4 separate regions of the Homo sapiens genome follow, and regions 2, 3 and 4 are each linked to region 1. Evidence: promoter capture Hi-C in 16 types of primary human blood cells and fetal thymus (Javierre and others, 2016). All regions are on one chromosome and are shown on one strand. The core of a region is centred on a gene start or on the middle of the fragment in contact, and the rest is flanking DNA. Distances in the headings are between cores, read along the strand shown. Region 1 holds the start of CYB561 (cytochrome b561). Region 2 overlaps DDX42 (DEAD-box helicase 42). Region 3 overlaps SMARCD2 (SWI/SNF related BAF chromatin remodeling complex subunit D2). Region 4 overlaps TANC2 (tetratricopeptide repeat, ankyrin repeat and coiled-coil containing 2).

Region 1 (2,700 bases), core at 172-2,671:
GTAGGACAAGGCTGGGCACGGTGGCTCACGTCTGTAATCCTAGCACTTTGGGATGCCAAGGCGGGCAGATCACTTGAGGTTAGGAGTTCGAGACCAGCCTGGCCAACATGGTGAAACCCCGTCTCTCCTAAAAATGCAAAAATTAGCTGCGTGTTGTGGCACACACCTGTAATCCCAGCTACTAGGGAGGCTGGAACAGGAGAATCGCTTGAACCCGGAAGATGGAGGTTGCAGTGAGCTGATATTGCCCTCTGCACTCCAGCCTCCTGGCAACAGAGCAAGACTCCATCTCAAAAAAAAAAGAAGGAAGGAAAGTAAGGAAAGCAAGAAAGCAATAAAGCAAGAAAGAAAAGGAGTGGGACAAGCAGGGTGGTTCCACCTCCAGCTCTAGGAGGCTCCCTCATGCAAGGAGGTGGGGCTGCCACCGCCTCGTATTTTCCTGCCTCCATCAAATTTCACCGGGAGAAATCCAGGCACCTAGAGGAGGTGGCAAAGCTTTTTTTTTTTTTTTTTCATTAGCTATTAAACCAAAGGGGCAGAATCTAGGCGCCCTAGATGTAACTTCATTTACGGAGTCAGAAAATCCACAAAGGCTGCCAAGGTGGAATGAATGAGAGGAGGACGACCAGAAAGGAGAAGTCTGGGAAGGGGACCCCAGATCCACACGGATGATCCTCGCTCCGTGATACAGTCGGGGACAGGGCAGGGAGGGAGGGAGGGAGGGTGGCCCTGCCATCTCCCAGGTGTCAAGGTGGCGGCAGCTCCGCCCTCAGCGCAGTTGGCACCGGCCTGACCCACCACAGGGCCACCGAGGCCACCGAAGCCATGGGGCTTTCCCACTCGGGAAACTCCCACCCTCGCGCTCAGAAGCTGGGGGCGTCGGGAGACACAGGCGGGGACCTGCGGCTCCACGTTGCAGCCCGGGCCCTGCTCGGGGCAAGAGGCGGTGGCTCCGGTTTCAGATTTCAAGAGGGCAGCCGTGGCAAAGGCTGGTTGGTCCATTTGCACCCTACCTTGCTCTAGAACGCGGCGCAGGAGCAAAGATCCAAACTCGGGGTCACCAGCAAGCGGGGGTCTCGGTTCTAACTTCAGCAGAGACCCGGCACCCGGGCAGGCCAGGGCAGGGGCCGCCTGGACCGGGAGAGGCTCGGCTCCGAGAGGGCGGGCGAGCCCTGCAGCCCTCGGGCCCAGGGTGCGGGTCGGCGCCGCAGTCCAGTGCGCGGCCGCAAGGGGCAGGTGCGAGGCCGGCTGCTACTCGGGAGCCCCGCGCTGTCCCTCCCTGCGCAGTCAGGGCTCACCTGGGCCGCCCCCGCCCCGCACCCCTGCGCGCTCCGCTCCCACCCCCAGCCCGGCCTCCTACCTTGCCTACCCGAGCGTCCCTTCAGCCTCCCCGCGCCGCGCCCGGGTCGCTTGGCCGGTTCTGCGGGCCGTGGCGCGACGGCGTCGCCATGGCAACCGGGCGGCGGGCTGGGCGGTGTCTCCGGGACCGGAAGTGGCGTACGCGGCCCCCGGGGCTGCCCCGCACGTGCCAGGTCCCCGCGGTTGCGGCCACGCTCGGGACCGGGCCCTGCCAGCTCCGGGCCCGCACGTGGGCGAACCGCGGCCACCGTGAGCCCGGCCTCGCGACCTCCCTCCGGGGCCCCCATGATCGGGGGTGCGTGGGATCTGCGGCCTGCGGGGGTGGAGGGCCGGGAGCTCCCCCGGGCCTGCCTCGAGGGCCGCGGGATTCGTCCTTGCGAGCCCCGACTGCGCACGGAAGGACCTGGGGTCGGCCAGGCCTGGGGGATGGGACGGGCCCCGAGGAGAGCGGGTGCCAGGGGCGAGACCCGCCGCCCTTCCCCGGCTTGGTCCCGCGCTTCCTGATTTTCTCGCTCCACGCCTCCCATTCTGCCCTCCACCTTCTTCCCTGCCCCGCCCTCGCCCTGCCCGGGCCCAGGAGGCCACTAGATGTCAGACCCGGTTCGGGCCTTGGCCACGCCGCCGCTCCGGGAGCCCTGGGGGCACCTCCCCAGCCCCCACGGGGGAGACGATACTGCCGGGAAGGCCCGGACTAGCCCCCGCCCCCGCAGAGTAGCCTTCGGGGAACACCGATTCCACCAGGCTCTCACGAAAGCCGAGAGCTTGCCGTCCGCAGCTTCCCCTGCCCAAAGCGCAGAGAAACGAGGGCGCCGAGGCCAAGACCAAGACCGGGAGCCAGCCCCTTCGGAGCCCGGTCCAGGCCCCCGGTCCAGGAAGTGCTGTGGGTAGATAAGGGGCCCAGCTCAGACTTCCTACAAGCTGGGAAGAAAGGGTTCTTTCCTGTCTGATGCCGGGCCAGATGTAGCAAGCGCCTAGGGGTAGGAGGGAAATGGGGTTTCCTCCCCGCAGAGGGAAACCGGCCTCCATTCAGGAACGCCCTCCCCCACCTGCCCTCCAGGCACCGAGGTTCTGGGAGGCCGGGGGGCAGGGAGACCTGCTTACTTGAATGCGCTTTGTGTATTGCCTGTGTATTGCCACAGGCAGTGGGCAAGATAGGCCCTGGGGATCCAGTACTCGCTTAGTACACAGAGAGCAGTCTCCAGCGCCAGGCGAGACGCACAGGCGTGTCAGCTGCATATGGCACACGGTGGCACATGGCACACCTTCCACGAGCAGACACAAGGGGCCGACACAGCAGGGCCCACCCCCTCAGAGGGACCAAGCTTAAACCCTCCAACAACA
Region 2 (2,700 bases), core at 177-2,676, 370 kb after region 1:
AGGAAGCCTTAGATAAGGATCTCAGCCACTTTTCAAATTTGGTGGATTATGCTACCAAAGAGAAACCAATCTGTGGTTCCTGTGAAAATTCCTCCCTTAGCGTAGTGCTGGCTGAAAATTAAGCAAAAGTTCCCCCTTCCCACTTAATTTCCTCTTTGTCCTCGTTCTCTTCTTCTGTTCTTTTCTCCCTCCCTTGACTTAACCTTGAATTTTGTTCAATGCAGAATGCCTGGTTTCGGAAATCTCGATTCAAAGGAGGGAAAGGAAAAAAGCTGAACATTGGTGGAGGAGGCCTAGGCTACAGGGAGCGGCCTGGCCTGGGCTCTGAGAACATGGTGAGTCTAGACTACTACAGTAGTGCCTTTATAGTTGGTCTCATGTCCTGAAAGTCATTAGGAATATTCTCATCTACCCAGGAAAGCCTCAGTGAGTTTAAAGCCCTGTCTAGAAGGGAATTTGTATTTAATCTGATTTGAGTCAATGCAGTGCTCATTCTTATGGTAACTTTCTATTGAAGAAGCATCTTTGTGTACTTGGTTGACTAGGCTTGCTCAGGAAATTATTCTAGATTAGCAGTGATCTCACACTGTGGTCCCTGGACCAGCAGCACATGCAAACTCATCCCCAACCCCAGACCTTGTGAATCAGAAACTCTGGAGTTGGGGCCCAGCAGTCTGGTTTTATAAGCCCTTCAACACTGGCCTAAAGCCTGCTGCTAGGTAAATGTTGCCAAAGGGTCACTGTAAAGTCTAGCCATATCTTGTCATTAAACTCAGGAACGGATCAGGAATTTCCAAGTCGGGAGCTAGTTTTTCTCACAAACCAGGTAACAAATGTACCCTTTTGGTGGCCTTTCTTAACTGCCTGTTTTCTGTCACCTTGATTCCAAGCCAGGGAAGAAAGCTGCCAGTATACTTTTCTGGAGCATTAAACTTGGCATCTTTGTAATTACATACTCTGTTCCCACATTATAATAATAATGATGATGATGCATAATAATAGGTAATATTTATTGAGCACTTTATATGTGCCAGGACCATTCCAAGCAATCAGATGTTTTGGCTCAGTTAATCTTCAAAATAACTGAATGGAAGTTAGTACAGATAACAATGCTGAGGCACCTAAGGTTACAGTGACAAGTGTTCAAGCCGAAATTCAGACCCTTCATGGTCTTGATTCAGGGCCTGAGCAGTCACACAATATGCTATTCAGGGCCTTTTCATCTTTAACGTAATTTTTACTTAATTAATTGGAAGTGTTTATGTAAATACATGATCAACTTTGGGCATAATCTGATTGCATTTCTGTTTAATAGGGTTAATTTCCAGAAATAGAATTTCTGGGTTGAGGGCATAAGCATTTTTAAATGATTGTCACTGTGTCTTTTCTCACAAAGCAGTAGCAGCTTTCTAAAAGTATCCAGTTCCTTTGTAGCTCCCACTTCAAGGGTTTTCATAATGAGGCCTAGTCTATAGCAGTGAGCTTTCCTGCTTATTTTTTCATTCTCATAGATGTGTTTATTTTTTTAGGATCGAGGAAATAACAATGTAATGAGCAATTATGAGGCCTACAAGCCTTCCACAGGAGCTATGGGAGATCGACTAACGGCAATGAAAGCAGCTTTCCAGGTCTGAAATAAGCATTTCATTAAAAGCACTTTCAGCAGTAACTCTTGGGCAGTGACAGAGGGGCTTAGTTTTCCTGGTTGTAGCTGGGCGCCTAGGCTTGATGCTAGATTTAGGGTCTTCACGCTGCTTGGATTTTGAATATAAACCTAACAGTAGCTTAGTTGGAAATGCAAGTTGATCTAGAGAACCCCTTGTGCTGGTCTACTTTGAGTCACACTTGGGGCCTGGGATTGTTGTCCTGCAGCAGGGTGTGTGTTCCCTCCCTTCCCAACAGCCTGAAGTGTTGCCCACCTCCCAGGCACCCACCTCCAACTCACTTCTGAAGCAAAATTTACTGATAGTCACACTAAGGTGAATCGATAGAATGAGTTCAAGGCAGGTTTTGCTGTCAAACTTAAATTGCAGTATGAAAATTTTTTTTAAGTTTTCAGAACTTTTTGGTTTTGAATGCAGATAAATGTGCTAAATACATAGATGCTTTATTCTAGCCAATCAGGCTATAAAAGTACATTTCAGAACACTGGGGGTCCATCTCTCCACAGAGATCCACAAGTTTTCCTTTATAGCACAAGAACAAAAGGGACCATACTGTGGGGCCATCAGGACACTAAACTCACAGTGCCAGGATAGCACAGAGTTTCTGTAAACCTCATCATTTGCCAAGTTGTATATTCAAGTTTCTTGAACTTGCTATCTTACCTACTCCTGATGTCTCTTTCTCTTTCAGTCACAGTACAAGAGTCACTTTGTTGCAGCCAGTTTAAGTAATCAGAAGGCTGGAAGTTCTGCTGCTGGGGCAAGTGGGTGGACTAGTGCAGGGAGCTTGAATTCTGTTCCAACTAACTCAGCACAACAGGGCCATAACAGTCCTGACAGCCCCGTCACCAGTGCCGCCAAGGGCATCCCAGGCTTTGGCAATACTGGCAACATCAGTGGTGCCCCTGTGACCTACCCGTCTGCCGGAGCCCAAGGAGTCAACAACACAGCTTCAGGGAATAACAGCCGAGAAGGGACTGGGGGCAGCAACGGGAAAAGAGAGAGATATACTGAGAACCGGGGCAGCAGCCGTCAC
Region 3 (2,700 bases), core at 36-2,535, 390 kb after region 1:
AATCCACCCTGGGAACTGCTGTGGGTAAAAATCACCCAGAGCTTTACATAGGAGTCCCCTCGGGAAAGAGGACTACACCTTGAGGTCTCGGCGCTGGGAACGGAGCCATTCCTGGATGAAGTCCTGGGGGTCGGTGCTAAAACTGAGCATGAAATCTCTCTGGGTCTTCAGCTGGTTGATGGACTCAATGGTCTCATGGATCTGGAGAGGGTACCTGTGTCAGACTGTGCCCCCAAAGCTTACATGCAAGCAACTGAGCCAGAGTTCCCATCCCGTCCTCCAGGTGCTACATGTATGGAAATGCTGGACAGAGCCAGCCCACCCCAATCCTGGGCCCCAGAGGAAGCTGTGGAGCCAGAGGGCCCACCTTGACATCAAGGGAGGCGATCTCCTGCTGATTGGTGGTAGAGGCCAGAAAATTGCTCATTTGGGCCTTCAGTGGGTCGTCCACCTCCACATCGATGTCGTAACAGGCTGTCTTCTTCTGGTCGTTAGGGTCGACACTGCAGGCAGCACATGGGGAGGGAAGGCACATAGCTGACTTCATCCTGCCCACCTGGGCCAAATCTGGGGCCCATTCTCTGCACACACTCAGGGAAAAAGAAACCTGATGCTTTCTTTGGCTTTAGTTCAAGCCAAGGGTGAATCTGCTCTTAGAAGAGCCTTCCTGTCCCCCTCCTTGCATTTACCTAATGACATGGTTGATGACAATGGGGTCTGGATGCTGCAGCAACCCTGCCAGCTTCATGGGAATCTCGGAGAAACGGAGTCGGCCACAACTGAAGATCTGGAGGAAATACGAAAGGCTCAGCGTTGGCTTGTGGGCACAGTGGAGTGGACCATTCCAGGACCAGTGAGGGCAGCAGTCTGCAGGCTGTGGCCAAGGAGTAGCCCAGCAGGCAAGGCAAAGCAAGGGCTGAGAAAACGGGGGCTGGCATCTGGCTAACCTGGCGGAAGTAACGGTTGCAGTTGATGTACTCCCGCTCGTGCCCATCCTGCAGCTGGTTGTGCTTGATGTAAAGCCACAGGGCCTGCATGATGGCGGCCCTCGTCTGCGTGTGCACTCCCAGCAGCCTTGCCAATCGGGGGTCCAATTTGTACTGGGGAGGCTGGAGTTGGATGGAGGGGAGTCAGAACGGGTTCTTATAGTAGAACAGTGGGAAAATAGGGCAGGGACAGGAAGGGTTTCTAGGAACCAGCTCCCCTCCTGAGGGGTCCCTGTGGGCCCAGAAATGACCCCAGGGTCTCTGTCACCTGATGATCCAGCATGAGCAGGAGGGTGCACTTGACGTTGAGGTCTCCAGGCCGTTTTACTTGGAAGCCATCTGTCTCCTGGGTGGTGGGCATCCGGTGCCACTGGCAGGGAGGGAAGCATGGCTTATCACCAAGGGGGTGGGCGTGAACACAGGGCCTCCCAAGGGCCCTGAGGCCATTTCCCTGCCAAACCTGCACATCAGCCTGCTTTTGCCCCAGGCCCACTCTCACCTCCACCAGGTGATTGTCAGGCCCGTACAGCTCCTTGTCCAGCTCAATGACGAGGCTCTTAAAGAATGAAGAAAACTTCCTCTTCTGTTTGCTAGGCTGGGGATGGAAAGGGGTGTGAGATGGTGCTGCTGAGCTCTCAAATCTCAAGCTATGCTAAATCCCAAGAAAGAGAAGCCCCATTTCAGCCCTGGAGCTCCGGATACTGAAGATTCCTGGGCCCTGAAGGATGGAAGCAGGACTCTGGGCAGACTGGAGGCAGGGAAATGGTGCCCTCTTGCAGCCCACGAGGGACTTCCTCGAGACACTCGACTGCCATCTGCAGGAACACTGTAATAACCACACAAATCAACCTCCAACGGGCTTGGAGCAGCGCCCCCCTCCCTATGGCAGGACTTCTCTGGGAGCGCCCAAGTGTCTGGCCCAGTCTTTTTTTTTCTGAGACACAATCTCACTCTGTCACCCAGGCTGAAGTGCAGTGGTGTGATCATAACTCACTGAAGCTCGACCTCCTGGGCTCAAGCCATCCTCCTGCATCAGCCTTATGAGTAGCTGGGACTACAGGTGCATGCCACCGCACCCAGCTAATTTTTAAATTTTTTGTAGAGATGGGGTCTGGCTCTGCTGCTCAGGCTAGTATCAAACTCCTTGGTCTCAGTCTTAAACCCACACAGGCCTCCTTCCCTCCAGAACCTCCCTCCCCAACTCACATCATCCAGCAGTTTTCCTTCCACTCGGAGTTCCCAGGAAGCCACCTTGTCCCCTGCTGGGGTTCCCCCAGGGGTCCCTGCAGTTCCTGCACTATCGCCTTCCGCCTTGCTGGGACTGAACGTATTGGAAATGTAGATCCGAAGCTTTCGCTTTTGCTAAAGAGAGAAAGGCAATCACAACTGGAGGTGGACCAAGATGCTGGGACACAGTGCTACCGCATCTTCTCATATGAACCATTCAACAATCAGTACTGAGCACCATGAGCCAGCCAGGCACCTTGTCAGGTACTGGGAATCAGAAGTAGTAAGTCCCAGTCCCAGCCTTTTTTTTTTTTAGACATGGTCTCACTCTGTCACCCAGGCTGGAGTGCAGTGGCGCGATCTCAGCTCACTTGCAACCTCTGACTCCCAGGTTCAAGCGATTCTCTTGCCTCAGTCTCCCATGTAGCTGGGACTACAGGTGCGCACCACCATGCCCAGCTAATTTTTTGTGTTTTTGTAAAGATGG
Region 4 (2,700 bases), core at 13-2,512, 370 kb before region 1:
AGGTTGGAAAAAAAAAGTCTTTTCTGGAGAATCTGACCAAAAAAAGGAAGATAAAAGAAGAAAGAGGAAATTTAGTCATCAGAGATTCCTGAAATAAACAGGCCAGTTAGCTCACTCCATGTATCAAAGCTCCAAATCAGCTTTTCAGTCCCCTGCCCTTAAATATGAGCAGCTAACAAAGATGAGTAGATATTTGAAGAAACTCTCTAAATGTATGAAAGATAGAAGTTAAATGGAATAAAACAACTTGGAGAGACATACATTTTTGCAGAGGAAAATTATAGAACTATTATCCCCAGAAATAAGAGAAAATAACCATGAAACAAGAAAGAAGTACATAAAAGAGTGATATTATGACTTTAAAAAAGGCTCTTAGGCATTGAAATTCTGATAGTAAAAACCAAAAGCTTCGTAGAATTATCAGAGACTAATGTGCTGAAAGAAACTCTGAAAAAATAGAGCAAAAGGACAAAAATAAGAAACGAAGGAGGAGTGTTAAGAAAAATCACAGGATCAGTCCAGGAATTTCAGTATTCAAATAATAGTTGTCAAAAGAAACACCAGAGAAAATGGAAAAGAAATCATCAAGATGATTCAAGATAATTTTCTTAACTGAAGAGCATAAAGTTTCCTGATTGAAAAGGCTCACTTTGTGCTTAGTACAATGGATGAAAATAGATCCAAACTAAGGCACATTGTGGTGAAATTTGAAATCACTGGAGCCAAACAGATCGTTCATGCTTCTGGGGGGTGGGAGGGAATGAGTTGGCTTTGCACTTCTCAGTCGTAGCATTGGAAACTGAAAAATAAAGCAGCATCTTCAGTATTCTGAAGGAAAATAATTTTCAATCTCTGAATTCCATATGCATTGATACTATTATTCAAATATAAGAATAGAATTAGATGTATACATTTTCAAAAACAATCTGCCTGTCTTATACACTTTCTAAGGAATCTGTTGGAGGATGTGATCCATCAAATGAAAAAGTCAGCCAAATGAAAGAAATGAATTACAAGAGACAGGAAAGTCAATAAAGCAGAAAGATCCTTCAGAATGACAATAAAAAGAAGGGGATAGAGGGCTAGCAGTTCAGATTGGAGTGGGTTAGAAGCCTCCAGAAGAGTGGTCTTCAGGAAAATGAGATTGGTAGAAACCTGATGCAATTAATTGTCTTTAGAAAAGTTTTAGACAACTGATGAGAGTCTCAAGGTTGAAATGGTGATAAATACATAAAATAGTAAGCAAAAGAAAGTTCTGAACTACAGGGAAGATAAATAATGTGTAAGAAAGGAGATGTTAGAATAATGTCGTCAGTTCTTTAGCAGAATCCAGAGTAGTTGATGTCCAAGCCAGTCACCTCCAGTAGAAAACGTGATCAGTTTACTTAATTATGTGGTACAAATAGCTTCATTATTTATTTGATTTGGACTATTATGATAGGAAACAATGCTCTAAAGGAGGGCAAGTCTGACCTGTGACTTTGTTTTTGTATGGTTGGTGTATTTGATTTGCTAAGAATTTAAATTATTTTTGCATCTATATTCACATGGAATATTGACTTTTCATTTTCTTGTTTTCTAATGTCTTTATCTGGTTTTAATATCAGAATAATGCTGGCCTCATAGAATAAGTTGGAAGTTTCAACTTCAGTTTCCTCCTCTTCAGTTTCCTAAGCTACATCGTGTAGAATTGATATTATTTCATCCTTAACTGTTTGATACAATTTCTCAGAAGCTAATTGGGCTTGGAATTTTATTTGCTGGAAGGTTTTTAAATGTGAATTCAAGTTATTTAATAAATATAGGACTATTAAAATTATGTGTTTCTTCTTGAGAAACATTTTAATATCTGCATAATCTGTAGTGATGTAAGCATTCTCATTTCTGATACTGGTAATTTGGGTATTCTTTCTCACTGTCCTGATCATTTTGGACAAAGATTTGTCAGTTTTATACATCTCAGAGAATCAGTTTTGTATTTGGTTTCTGTATTGCTTTCCTGTCTTCTATGTCATTGATTTATACTTTGTCCTTTATTATTTTCTTTCTTCTGCCTGCTTTGGGTTTAATTTTATCTTTTTCTTGTTTCTTAAGGTAGAATCTGGGGTCATTGATATGAAAGCTTTCTCTTCTAATATAGGAATTTAGTGTTATAAATTTCTGTTTACTGCTTTAGTTAGTTACATAGATTCTGATAAGTAGTATTTTCATTTAGTTCAAAAATACCCTTTTGATTTTTTCTTTGACCCATGTGTTATTTAGAAGTATGTTGATGTAGTTTCCAAACATTTGGAAGTTTTTCAGATATCTTTCTCTTATTGATTCTTACTTAAATTTCATTGTGATCAGAGGACAAACTTTCTGTAGGTTGAATCATTTTAAATTTGTTAAGACTTGTTTTATGGCCCAGGAAATGATCTATTTTAATAACTGTTCTGTGTGCGCTTTAAAAGAAAGTGTATTATGCTGTTTTAGGGTGGAAGGTTCTATAAATGTCAACCTGATCACGTTGATTGATAGTGTTATTTAAGTCTTCTATCTTCTTGCCGATTTTCTTTCTACTTGTTGAACAGCAAGGAATATTGAAATCTCAGGCTATAACTGTGGATTTGTCTATTTCTCCTTGCAGTTCTGTCACATTCCTTGTACCACTGGTCCTCTGATAAGAAAAATTCCTCTTCCTCAGAGATTTATGTGTCT

The links. Contacts are between HindIII fragments. The CHiCAGO score rates a contact against its expected background, and 5 or more counts as called.
Region 2: a contact is called between a fragment that was not itself captured here and the fragment with the promoter of CYB561 in region 1, in 1 of 17 cell types (naive B cells). The highest score is 5.2, in naive B cells.
Region 3: a fragment that was not itself captured here is called in contact with the fragment with the promoter of CYB561 in region 1 in 1 of 17 cell types (naive B cells); the score reaches 5.2 in naive B cells.
Region 4: a fragment that was not itself captured here is called in contact with the fragment with the promoter of CYB561 in region 1 in 1 of 17 cell types (M1 macrophages); the score reaches 5.5 in M1 macrophages.

Annotation. Positions count from the first base shown.
Region 1 is chr17:63,444,885-63,447,584 of GRCh38, forward strand. It overlaps CYB561 (cytochrome b561), which reads right to left and starts at 1,422. Exons shown (of 6, transcript NM_001915.4): 1 at 1,361-1,422. RefSeq lists silencers at 1,119-1,678, 1,849-2,038 and enhancers at 2,008-2,700, 2,179-2,318. The HindIII fragment of the contact is 2,186 bases long and covers 494-2,679 here.
Region 2 is chr17:63,815,339-63,818,038 of GRCh38, forward strand. It overlaps DDX42 (DEAD-box helicase 42), which reads left to right. Exons shown (of 18, transcript NM_203499.3): 16 at 225-335; 17 at 1,530-1,628; 18 at 2,356-2,700. Among named protein-coding and RNA genes, the nearest start is that of PSMC5, 11 kb to the right of the region's middle. The HindIII fragment of the contact is 2,959 bases long and covers 1-2,700 here.
Region 3 is chr17:63,833,220-63,835,919 of GRCh38, forward strand. SMARCD2 (SWI/SNF related BAF chromatin remodeling complex subunit D2) reads right to left here. Exons shown (of 13, transcript NM_001098426.2): 5 at 2,193-2,348; 6 at 1,486-1,581; 7 at 1,255-1,356; 8 at 948-1,109; 9 at 690-787; 10 at 368-503; 11 at 79-201. Among named protein-coding and RNA genes, the nearest start is that of FTSJ3, 6.9 kb to the left of the region's middle. RefSeq lists an enhancer at 1,824-1,983. The HindIII fragment of the contact is 2,098 bases long and covers 237-2,334 here.
Region 4 is chr17:63,076,397-63,079,096 of GRCh38, forward strand. All of the region lies in intron 3 of TANC2 (tetratricopeptide repeat, ankyrin repeat and coiled-coil containing 2), which reads left to right. Among named protein-coding and RNA genes, the nearest start is that of TANC2, 110 kb to the left of the region's middle. The HindIII fragment of the contact is 1,715 bases long and covers 406-2,120 here.